2 separate regions of the Homo sapiens genome follow, and region 1 is linked to region 2. Evidence: promoter capture Hi-C in human tissues and cell types (Jung and others, 2019). All regions are on one chromosome and are shown on one strand. Each heading gives the region's core, a stretch centred on a gene start or on the middle of the fragment in contact. The rest is flanking DNA. Distances are from core to core; before and after follow the strand shown.

Region 1 (5,728 bases), core at 1,561-4,060, 95 kb before region 2:
CTCAAGTGATCCCCTTGCCTCGGCCTCCCAAAGCACTGCTAGGCGTGAGCTACCAGGCCTGGCCCAAGGCACTGAGGTTTGGACTCAGGCTGCCTCCTGCCTCAGCCAGAGTGATGAGCACTCATCCCTTCTGTGTGCTCACCCACCACAGGCCTAGCAGGGACATCTAACTGCAGTAAACTTGTCCTGAATAAATGAACAGCAGGATGAGTGATGCCTGCCCTCAACTTCCTCTCCCAAATGAGCTACTGAACTGGACTTGGGTCCCCTTCAGTTGCTCCCTCCCCCATCTCAAATGTCTCTCAGCCTCAGTCCCCTCATCTGCATAATGTGCATAATAATGGTATCCTAGAATTGTTGTGGAAACTAGAGTTAATATATGTCTGGGACATAGTAGGTACATAGCAAATGCCAATTATTATTATTATTATTATTATTGGTATTATTTCTCTCCAGGAACTTTAGTTTCCTCAGCTGTGAAATAGCAATTCATTTATTCATTCAACCAACTGCTGATCATCGCCCATGTGCCGGCCATTGTGGTTAAGACCTAGAACAGTAGCAGATGAATGAGTCATGGTCTCTGCTTGGAGGGACTAACCTTCTGGTGTGGCGGACAGTCATGTTAAAACCCAGGCCTGGCACAGTGGCTCATGCCTGTATTCCCAGCACTTTGGGAGGCTGAGGCAGGCAGATCTCTTGAGATCAGGAGTTCGAGACCAGCCTGGCCAAGATGGTGAAACCCCGTCTCTACTAAAAATACAAAAATTAGCCGGGCATGGTGGTGTGCGCCAGTAGTCTTAGCTACTTGGGAGGCTGAGGCACGAGAATCACTTGAACACGGAGGTGGAGGTTGCAATGAGCCGAGAGCCGAGATAACCCACTGCACTCCAGCCTGGGCAACAGAGCAAGACTCCGTCTCAAAAAAAAAAAAAAAAACGGAATTAAAACCCAGTGGGAGGAGAGCCACAATATATGTAAAGTCTATGTAGAAGTTAGGCAGCCTAGGGGTGGTGGGCAGCTATCTCCAGAATTGGGCTAATTGAGGGGAAGGATGAGAGCTGACTGTGTCCCTTGCTCTTTCTGGCTTCTCGAGTTGGCATGAAAACTTTTGGGGTGGGCTTCACTGGCTGTTGACTAGGACCATACAGACAGATCACCAGAAAGCCCAGGCTTAGGGTAGGTAGATGAAAGTTAAGGATCAGGGAAGAATGAACCAAACTATATCTCAGGCATTTTCCCCTAAAATGTTACCTTAGTTTTTAAGAATCAAGTGAAATAATATATAAATCTAATTCTTTAAAGACTTTTATCCTTTTGAAAAATGAGTGCAATTTATTTTAATAGAGGTGAATCTGTGATATGAGTAGCCACATTACACCGCCACCTGGTGGCAGCATACTAAAGTCACAGGTTTGTTTTCCTTTGAGACCAAGGGTACACCACAAACTCAGTTGTTTTTGGACGTGAGCAAAGATACCAAAGCCATTTTCCCCTTTCCCCTTCTCCCCAACCCTCTACTAAAACCCACTTCCATGGTTGGAGCTCCCAAGCTTCCAGCATTTTTGATTCAGCCACACCTGCTCCAGTTTCCAGCAGAGAAGCCAGCCTAGTTTTCCTCCCCATCTCCTGCCTCAGGCCCATCCTGCCCTCCAACTCTACATCAGAGCTAAACTCCCCAAGCCCTCGGCTCAGGCCCCAAGGGGAATGTGGATCAGGGAGAGAACCCTGCCCGAGGGTAAAGGTTAAGAGTGCAGATGCTACATGCACTGATGTGGGTTTGAATCTCCAGCTGACCACTTATTGGCTGTGGTCTCTCTACATCTCTAAGGCCTCTCTGAGCTTCACTTTCCCCATCTGGAAAAAGTGGGATGCAGTCTGGATTTCTTTTTCTTTTCTTTTTTTGAGATGGAATTTCACTCTTGTCACCCAGGCTAGAGTACAATCTTGGCTCACTGCAACCTCCACCACCCAGGTTCAAGCGATTCTCCTGCCTCAGCCCCCCGAGTAGCTGGAACTATAGTCATGTGCCACCACACCTGGCTAATTTTTGTGTTTTTAGTAGCGACAGGGTTTCACCACGTTGGCCAGGCTGGTCTCGAACTCCTGACCTCAGGTGTTCCACCTGCCTCGGCCTCCCAAAGTGCTGGGATTACAGCGTGAGCTACCATCCCCAGCCTGGATTTTTTTTTTTTTTTTTTTGAGACATTTTCACTCTGTCACCCAGCCTCTTTCTCCTCTGCTCAAGCAATCCTCCTGCCTCAGCCTCCCAAGTAGCTGAGACTACAGGCACATACCACCATGCCTGGCTAATTTGTTTTTTGTTTTAGAGATGGGGTCTCACTATGTTGCCCAGGCAGCTCTCCAACTCCTGGGCTCAAGAGATGCTCCTGCCTCAGCCTCCCAAAATGCTGGGATTATAGGCATGAGCCACTGCACTCAGCCCTAACAGAGATTTCTTCTTCTTTCTGTTACACGTCCTTCTACTCTTCTTTCTACAAGAACTGGCGTGGGTGGAGACCAAGAAATGCTGGGGAGGAGAGGAATGGAGAAGATCATGAGAAGCAGAATGCCCCTTCACTGCTCTTCCACCCTTTGCCGGAAATGTCTAAGGCCTGTCCTGTAGGACCTCCCTCTCAGGCTCCTCTCCCCATCCCAACCTCTCCAGTTCCCTCCGCCAAAGTTCCTCTGAGCCTGGTCCCCAACACCCTGGGTCATCTGAGAACCCACTTCGCATTGAATGGGCCATGACTGCCTCCCACCCACCCTGACCTCCCCACTCCACCCCCAGCTTGGGGCATTTGCACTGTGTTCCAGGCATTCTGGAAGGGGAGAAGTTTTGGAGCTGGGCTTCCTCAAACTTGGCAATCACTGGAGCTCTGTCCTAAAGCTTAGGAAATCAGCTTTCCACCCAATGGTGATGCTGTCTGGATCTTGTGTGGCCTTGGTCAAGTCACACACTCTCCCTTGAGCCCTGAATTCCCCATCCCGATATAGACCAGCTCTGACAGCATGGCTGCTGGGCCTGCCGAAGGGGTGGGCAGGGTGGGCAGGTCCTCTCCCCCCACCCACTTTCTCCTTGGAGAACCCCAGGATCCTGCTCAGAGGAGGAAGCAGTGCTCCCCCTAGGGAAGCGGATCCCAGGGGACTCCAGAATCCTCCCCCACACTCTGCGGGCAGCCAGCACTAAGTGCTGTATTAATTATTACCAGCCTCCCCTGGGAAGCAAATTCAAAGTGAGGTCACCATGGTAACCCAGACACTGCAATGTGACCAAATTTTTAAAGTGCTCAACATGTTCCAGGCAAATTACCTATCGATGGAAGAGAAAAGAATGAGGCTTCAATCCCACAGTTCAGTGGCCTTAGGAAGAAAAGCCCAGAAGCTCCCATGGGGCCTGGAACCTTTCTACAAAGGAGTGAGGCGGGGACAGGGATGGGAGATCAGAGCCCCACCTCGAGAGAGCAGAGCAGAGATGGAAATGACATCCAGGGTCCTGAATGATCTCTTATGGGTGGGCATGAGGCCTGGCCAGAGAGCCAGAGGGCCTGGGTCCTAGGACCAGCTCTGCCACCATTTAGCTCTGCAGCCCCAGGCCAGTCCCTTGCCCTCTCTGAGCCTCCAGTAAAGCCTCACCCAGAAGTATTTCTTAAAGGACCAGAGAGATGAACCATAGTGAGTTATTAACCTCATATATGAGGGTACGGGGTGGTAAGAAGAAGGGTGAGGGGTTTTTGCGAATCAGGCTTCTAAGGCAGAGACCTAGATTCAAATCCCACTTCTGCCATCCAGCAGCTGTGTGACCTTGGGTCAGAGACTTCACCCCTCTGAGTTGGCTTCCTTACCTGTAAGAGGGGGGCCAATCACAGTCCCACCGCCTCTGGGTGGTTATGAAGTTTAAATCAGATAATCCATGAAAAGCACTCGGCACAGCACCCTGGACAGAGTAGGGCCCCCTGTCATCATCTCTGCTGCCAATTAATAAGTGTCCCACGTGCCAGGCTCTAAGCTGAGCATGATGAACATGATCCATCACCAAATCCTCGCCACATCCTTCCCATGAGGCGGGTGCCATTGTTACTCCACTTTACAGGTGTGGAAATGGAAAGTAAAGCTAGCAGGGCGAGGCAACTCACCAAAGCACACAGATACCCATGGTGGGGGCCTGGATCCTGACCCAGGACCTTCTTCCTCCAGAACTCAGGCCCCTAACCATTCACCTGAGTGAAATGAGATGTGTATTGAGTGCCCAACACAAATGCGTGGCACATTGTTGGTACTCACTAATAGTGGCCACTCACTGGCACATTCAGGGTTCACGTCATAGCCACCGTTTTGCCCCGATCCCCGTCTTCTGGCACTTGGGAACCTGGATCTGGTGGATTCAGCACTTGCATGGCTCAGGCAGTGATGAGGGAATTAAAGGCAGGGACCCACCCCTTCTTCCTGAGCAAGGGTCCCCTCTTCAGGCCACGGCCCAAAGGTGCATCACACTAGCCTTGTCGCCTCCTCTCACTGTCCCTGGGGCACTGGCTACCCTCACACTGCGGAGACACAGATACCCAGCAGTTGTCTCTGACCTCATCCCACCCAAGCTACTCTCTGGCCTTGCGTAGCCCCCGCCCACCCTTTCCTCCTGGGTCAGCCCCACCCCTTCCACCCCACCGTAACCCCCTGGCCAGCCCAGGCAGGACTGGCTTTCCTGGGACAGAATGAGGTCAGGCCTTCTGAGTGATAGATGGTTTTAATAACCAGCCATTCTTACTACCAGCCCATTTGCTCTTCACTGTTCCAGGCCCCACGTAGGGGCTAGAGTCAGCCCAACCAGTCAGGGAGAGCATCAGAGGGGCAGGGACCACCTGCCCAGCCAGCTCAAGGTCCTCCGGGGACCCAGAGCCACTCAAAGCTGAGCCCATGGGAAATAGCCAGCCCAGTGCTAGCCCTTCTGCTTGACAGTGGGATGACCTCAGCAAATCACTGCTCTTCTCTGAGCCTCAGTTTCTCCATCTGTAAAGTGGAGTACATGGGTCCCGCTACCTGCGGGGTCACTGCAGGGACGGAGCACGTGTGGCCTCACTGTGTAAATTTCAGTAGCATTAAGAGGCAATTCTGGTTATTGATCATCTTGGCTGCTGCTGGGTTGGGGTCCTCCAAAAGCTGACCCGGAGACAAGGATGAGAGAGCAGGTAGTTCCCTTGGGCAGTGACCCCAAGAAGCAAGGTGGGAAGTGGGGAAATGAGGCAGGACCAGTTCAGGCTGTGCTGGCGAACTGGCTATGGCCAGGGACGCTGGGGCTCAACCCTGCTGGAGTCCACTGGGAACTGGACAGGATGTGCCTCGGATTGTCCTAATCAAGGGCTGAGAAAGCTGGGGCATTTATCCACCAATTCCCACCCACCTCTGGTTGAGGACTGCTCTGAAAGACAGCAGCTCCCCTGCCCTTCCGACATCCTCTGTAAGGAGGCTGGACCTGCCTCACGGCCAGAGAAGGTCCCCAGAGAGTCCCAGGGACTTGGAGTAGGAGGTGCCACGTGCACAGGAACAATGCTGAAGTGATTAAGGCAGCAATCCCCATACGTGATCCTACTTATCCTCGCATCAACCTTATGAGGGAGGTACTATTAGATCCACTTTGCAGATGAGGAACCTGAGGCGGAAAGAAGTGACATACACTTGCCCGAGGCCACACGGCTCAGAAGGAGCAGGATTAGACACGGCTCCTGGATCT
Region 2 (6,223 bases), core at 266-2,765:
TTCATTTTCAGTTGAGAGAAAGTTGCATGCCAGGGATATTTAAACATCGAGGGTGGGTCTGCTGTCAGTGGTCTGGCCAGAGGTAGAAGGATGACTGAGTCCCAGCCGCCCATCCCCAGCAGGCCTCAGGGAAGAAGCAAGATTTACGAGGCGAGAGCCTGCCTGGCCCGCTTCTTCTGTCGGGAAAGGCTTCCCTGCAGTATTTTCTGTCTCGTCAACACTGCATTTCATTTTAAATTGCAGCTGAAAGTAGATATTTTCCCTCTTGCCTATTACAAACCTCTTAATTTGTCTCTCCCTCTGCTGTTATTTGTCTCTATAAAGTGTTTTGCATGAAAGACCCACACAGCACAATGTTGCTTCACCCTGGGTTAGGTTTAACAGGAAGGGAAGATGCAGAGACTAAGTCCAAGGAGGAAGATGTGAGGGCCTTGGGGTTGAGGACACGCGTGTCTGGGAGTTGATGCCTGGCTGTTTTTGGAGGTTATCTGTTGCCTGAGTGTCTGTGGGTATGCGGGTGCACATGTCCATGTTTGTACTAATTTACATATATGTCTATGCATACTGTGGTATAATCACTTGGGTGTCCATACCCAAATTAAGTGTATGTTTGAGTGCATGTACACACCCACATGCCAGTCTCTGTGTGCATATAGATCTATGCCCAGACGCACACATGTGCATATAAACACACGTAGGCATCAAGGTAGACGTCCGTCACATTATGTGTGTGGTCTTCTGTAGACACGCCCGGGGCTCTCTTCCTTTCGCTGCTTCTCAAGGCTGCGGTCAGCCTCCCTCCGTGCTCCACCCAGGAGCCCTGGCCCCGTTTAGGGTTGTGGGAAAAGGAAGGCACGCCAGTGGTCTGCGAGGGGGCCAGTGGAAACATCACCTCCGCCGACCCGGCCGCGGTCACAGCTCTCTGGCTTGGCTCCAGCCACCAGCAGCACCCCTGCAGCCCGGCGTTAGCGCTGAGAAGCCCGGGGCAGCCGCCAGGGCGCGGGCTGCCAGCTCCCTGACAACCCCGGGCTGGCACTCGGGGGCGAGAGAGGTCACCCAGCGACGGGCACACCCCTCCAGAGCAACACCGTCTCCGGCCCGCTTCCGGGGGCCACCAACCCGAGCCTCGCGGGCGGGCTGGGGGGTGGTCTCTGTCGCTTGGGGTCCAGCGAAGGCTGGGCAGTAACCAATGGACGACTGTGGCCCAACGGGGATCCCTCGGATGCAGCCAATGCCCTCGTTGCGCTCTCCGCCCCCGCCCTCGCCTGCCCCGCGCCGCTGGACCATTGGCGCCCGCTGGATGGGGGGTGCGCGCGACGCCTGCCCTTCGGGGAGGGCGGGGCTTGGAGCGGGCTGCGCTCCCGCCCGCGCTCGGCCTCTGCCCCGCCCCCGGACGCGCGGCCCTCAGCCGGCTGCGGCGCGGCGGCGGCGGGAGGGGGCGCGGGGCGCGCGCGTGGGCGTGGCCGGCGGGCGTGGCCGGCGGGCGGCAGGAGGCGGGGCGGCGGGCGCTGTCGCAGTGAAAGCCCGAGCGGCGGCGGCGGCGGGGACGGCGGTGGAGGCGGCCGGGTGGCTGTGCGCGCGTGTGGGGCGCAGGCTCGGCGGCAGCGGCCGGTCTGGAGCGGCCGCTGCGAGGAAGACAGCTGCAGCGGGGGAGGCGCGGCCAGGGCTGCGCGCTCCGCGGAGCCGGCGGGGCCGGGAACAGGTGATCCCAGTGGGAGCCCCGCGCCCTGCCGAGTTCGAGGGGCGGGAGCCCGCGCTCCCGGGCGCATCTGCAGCCGCCCAGCCGCGGCTCCGGACCCAGGCATCCCTGCGCTGTCTGGGGCCCGGGGGAAGCCCCCTGCCCCCGCAGGCTCGGAAGTGCCTGCTCCTGCTCCCTGGCCACTCCGGCTCCCAGCTCCCGGCGCCCTCTCCGCGGCGGAGAAAGTTGTGGACGTGTCCCGATAGTCGAGCCCGGGCGCTGTCGCGACCGGGCCGGGTGTGCGCGCGCTCGGGGCGGCGCTGACACGCCAGCCCCCCATCGCCTCGGTCCCCTCCGGAAACTGCTTCTGAAGCTGAAACTTTGGGCGCCTACCAGCGCGGGCGGGAGCCTAGGGGGCGGAGGGCGGCTTGGTGCGGGCCTGCGGGCGCCCCTCGGCGCGGACAGCCGGGACGCCGCGGACGGCATGTGACGGTCCCGGCGGCCGCAGCGCGGGAAGGCGCGGGCCCCGGCGCGGCGGGGAGGGCTCGGCCGGAGGGGAGGCTGCGGCGCGCGGCCGGTCGCTGCGGGCCCGGGCCCCAAGCCGTGCCGCTCCGCTCGCCCGGGCCCCGCCGAGGCCGCTGCGCCCCCGCCTCCTCGCGGGAGGACTCGCTCCAAACTCCCTGAACTTCGGGGACAGTCCCCCGAAGCGGCGAAACTCTCAGGGTTGGCAACCCTGCCCAGGGACCCCCATCCCGGGCGGCGCTCCGGACGCCCTCCCCTCACCGCGCCCCCGCAGACACGTGCCTGGACTCCGAGGGCTTCTGGAGCCACCGGCCGGGCCACGATGCTCATGAGGAAAGTGCCCGGCTTCGTCCCGGCCTCCCCGTGGGGGCTGCGGCTGCCGCAGAAGTTCCTCTTCCTCCTCTTCCTCTCGGGCCTGGTCACCCTGTGCTTCGGGGCCCTCTTCCTGCTGCCCCACTCCTCTCGCCTCAAGCGCCTCTTCCTGGCCCCCCGGACCCAGCAGCCTGGTCTGGAAGTGGTGGCTGAAATCGCCGGCCATGCCCCGGCCCGCGAGCAGGAGCCGCCTCCCAACCCGGCCCCCGCCGCGCCGGCCCCGGGCGAGGATGACCCCAGCAGCTGGGCCAGTCCCCGCCGCAGGAAAGGGGGGCTGCGGCGCACCCGCCCCACTGGACCCCGCGAGGAGGCCACGGCGGCCCGGGGCAATAGCATCCCGGCCTCCAGGCCCGGGGACGAGGGCGTCCCTTTCCGCTTTGACTTCAACGCATTCCGGAGCCGTCTCCGCCACCCGGTCCTGGGAACGAGGGCCGATGAGAGTCAGGAGCCCCAGAGCCAAGTGCGAGCCCAGCGGGAGAAAATCAAGGAGGTATGGACTCAGCCCCCAAACTCCTCCCACCAACTGCCCCCTCTAAGGAGAGAAGACCCTCTGGCGCTCCCACCCCTTTCCCTTGCCTCAGTCACTCCTGGTCCCAGGTCTACTTCTGGCCCTGCAGACTGCACTTTGCACCTTCCCCTTTCCTCCCAAATGTCCCACCTTCTTTCCTCCCTACACAGTTTCCCACCACTCGGGTCAGTTAATCGTCCCCACCGTGACAGATGGCAGCTGAACCCCTAGACCAACTGCCCCCTCACTCCCAGACTCTGGTATGTCGTATCCAACCCCCAGGCCCAGTGAGCTCCACTCCTTCCCTTTGTGGAGTTGCTAATGAGAGTGGAGTTCAGGTTCCTTAGTGCACCCTCTTTTTGCATTTGTGGACACAGAGCCACTGGTCCCATTCTTTTTCACTGTGTGACCTTAAGTCCAAAACCCCTATAGGACCTGCTTACCTAAAAACCCAGGATTTAAGGGGGTATTTGGTGTCCTGCAAATATTTTGTAATCTAGTAAGCAACCTACAAACCAGAGGATGTTGTGCATTCTGTTTCTATTGAGCTTATTGAGCTTCAGAACAATTGTACACAATTGTACATAATTGCATATGATGCAGGAAGAGATGATAAAGCAGTGGTCATATTACAGAAGCTCCGAGGTTATTGGCATAATGAAGCAGATCTTGAGCTGGTTCCCTGTAGGGATTGTACCAGGAGGGATTTAGAAGGATCACTTTAAGTCTGAGTCTTAGTTTAAGAAATCAAAAGCAAACACAGCCTCACAAGGCTTGAAGACAGTTGCCAGCTTGCCACTGCCACTAAATATTCTGCTGGACCACTGTTAGAACTGCCTGCGTGCGGATGGTGCCCAGCAATGCAGAGGGGGCTGCAGTGACACCCCCAGGCCACGAGGGGGCCGTGGGCAAGCTGTGGGCCAGGGTCTCCTCCCTAGAAACGAGAGGATGCTCTCCCCTCCCCATGGACTCAAAGGAAAGAAAGGGCTGCTTCTGCCTGGACTTCTTGATTTGCTGCGAAGAAGTCAGCAGTTCGACCCTGATTTCCAGGAAGAGCAGGCAGCAAGGATCAGGACCTGCCCTGTCAAGACCTGCTCAGAGCCGATGGAGGGCTTAGCCAGATTATCCCCTTCTCCTTGTCTGAACCATCCTCCCTTCCAGCGCCCACCTCTCTTCCACTTCTTATCTTTTCTGTTACTCTGTTTGGAGACTTAACTAGCAATCACAGGACATTTTGTGAAGTTACAGTAGGAAGCCACAGGGAAACTGAGTGCTTGGTGTGTATGTGTGTGTGCATGTTTGTGTGCTCTCAGTTTCCAGATTCCTGTTGAAATCTCAGGTTGAGTGACAGCTGGAACTTGCAGTAGCTAAGTAAGGGGCATTCATTTCTCCCTTTCTTGTTAAGGAACTACGCTGTTGAATACTCACTTGGACCACCCATAGCTCTTTCTCAAAGCTGCTTCTGAGCACAGTGGCTCTTTTTGCCCCTCTCGACCTCCCAGTAGGGCAGTGACCCCCAGTGAAATTACATATAAATTGCATGCATGCAGTTTTTCATGGGGCATCCAGAGGTGCCATCAGATTTTCAAACTGATCCCCCAAAGGATTAAGAATTAACTATCATCTTCCTCAGAAGAGATACTCTCTGTGTTTGCATTTAGATGGTGGTCCATTTCCGAATGCCAGGGGCTGGAGAGTCATGGCAGGAAGGAAGGGCTGGCTAGTAGGGAACTTGATTCTCCCTCTCTGTGTAAGACAATTTATTTTGCCAGCAGAGTCTGGGATGATGCTTGCTGGAGTGGCTGGAGGGTGGGAAGAGGGGTGAGGATTCTGTGCTTTGCAGGTGGGTATAAAATAACATGATGGGAGAAGGTCTAAGTTGGTGACCAGATGTCTGGATCTTTCTAGCTGGTATCTCCTTGCACCCCTGGTACTAGCTGGAGGCATGCTGCATATACTTGGAGTTGGTGTTCAGCTAGCCCTCTCTTACTAATCTTGAAGAAGAGAGGGCTGGTTTCTGTTGTTTTGAAACCTATTGTCTCTTCAGGCTTCCTGCCACTGACCACGCTCTCACGACAACCTGAAAGATGTAGAGTGGGTTTTGGTTTAGTTGTTAACAGTTACCATTCCTGCTGTCCCACCCCAGGAAGAACGCATATGATGGTTGCTGGAGAATGTCTTTATTTCCTTCACATTTAAATTCTATCTGCGTCATGCCCAGGGGTAGATCATTTTAGAAAGGTGCCTGTTTTCACAAAAGGGACTGTTGCTTTCCTCCCTGGTTTGTTTATTTCCAGACATGGATTGATTAAATCCAAGGAACAGAGGGGGAGCTGGCATCAGATAAAAAAAGGCCCTGTTCTTATAAGATTTTAAAGTGAAAGTAAATATCAGGAGAGAGAGAAGGTGATAAATGAGCATGAATGAAAACTGGACACTTGGACTCTAGATCAATACTGTGCATTCATGAGCATCCCGAGAGATGGACATGGTCACCAGGTCTGTGTTGTTAAGATGGTTGAGGCTGCAGGTTCTGGGCATGCATATGTCAGGAAACACTCTGTCACTAGAACCAACTGTTTTTCCTCACTTTCCAATTTTGGAACCTTGGCAAAAGCAATGTGGTGGAGAGAGGAGACCCACAGAACATGGGTTGGAGTTTCAGCACACTCTCAACTGTCTGACTTTGGGCAACCCACCTCTCCTTCCTGGACCTTCCTGTAAAATGGGGTGAGGGAGAGGAGAATAAGCTGGTTATAGACCCTCTTGCTTCTGGCCCTGGCCCCTAAGTGAACTGGCAGTCTGGTCAGGGACTCCATAGCGGTTGGGCTTTCCGAACTCTGTTTTGAGATATCTTGTACTGGAAATCAGGGACAATGGTGTGGTGGTAGTGGTGGTGTTGATGGGGTCGTGATGTTCACTGCTGTATCTCTGTCTAGCACCTATCCAAGAATAGATATTCAGGCAGTTGGTTAAGTTAATTATTCCCATTACCCTCAGCTTGGAATCACGAAGAGTAAAGGTGTTGGCTGGAATGTAAAGGGGTGAAGGCTTGGTAGTAGCCTTGCCTTTCAGATCTGAGGATAATATAGGAAATGGGGGATGTCATTCATAGGCGGGTTTCTTATGGATTCAAGTTCAAA

Evidence for each region. Contacts are between HindIII fragments. The study calls those that stand out against the background at their distance.
Region 1: a fragment that was not itself captured here is called in contact with the fragment with the promoter of MAN1C1 in region 2 in 3 of the 25 tissues and cell types used here (dorsolateral prefrontal cortex, hippocampus and neural progenitor cells).

The regions. Positions count from the first base shown.
Region 1 is chr1:25,519,258-25,524,985 of GRCh38, forward strand. No RefSeq gene overlaps it. Among named protein-coding and RNA genes, the nearest start is that of LDLRAP1, 21 kb to the right of the region's middle. RefSeq lists an enhancer at 1-6. The HindIII fragment of the contact is 7,001 bases long and covers 1-5,728 here.
Region 2 is chr1:25,615,276-25,621,498 of GRCh38, forward strand. MAN1C1 (mannosidase alpha class 1C member 1) reads left to right here and starts at 1,516. Exons shown (of 12, transcript NM_020379.4): 1 at 1,516-3,062. The coding sequence starts at 2,523. RefSeq lists enhancers at 782-951, 5,158-5,207, 6,076-6,223 and silencers at 1,142-1,431, 1,452-1,741. The HindIII fragment of the contact is 13,132 bases long and covers 1-6,223 here.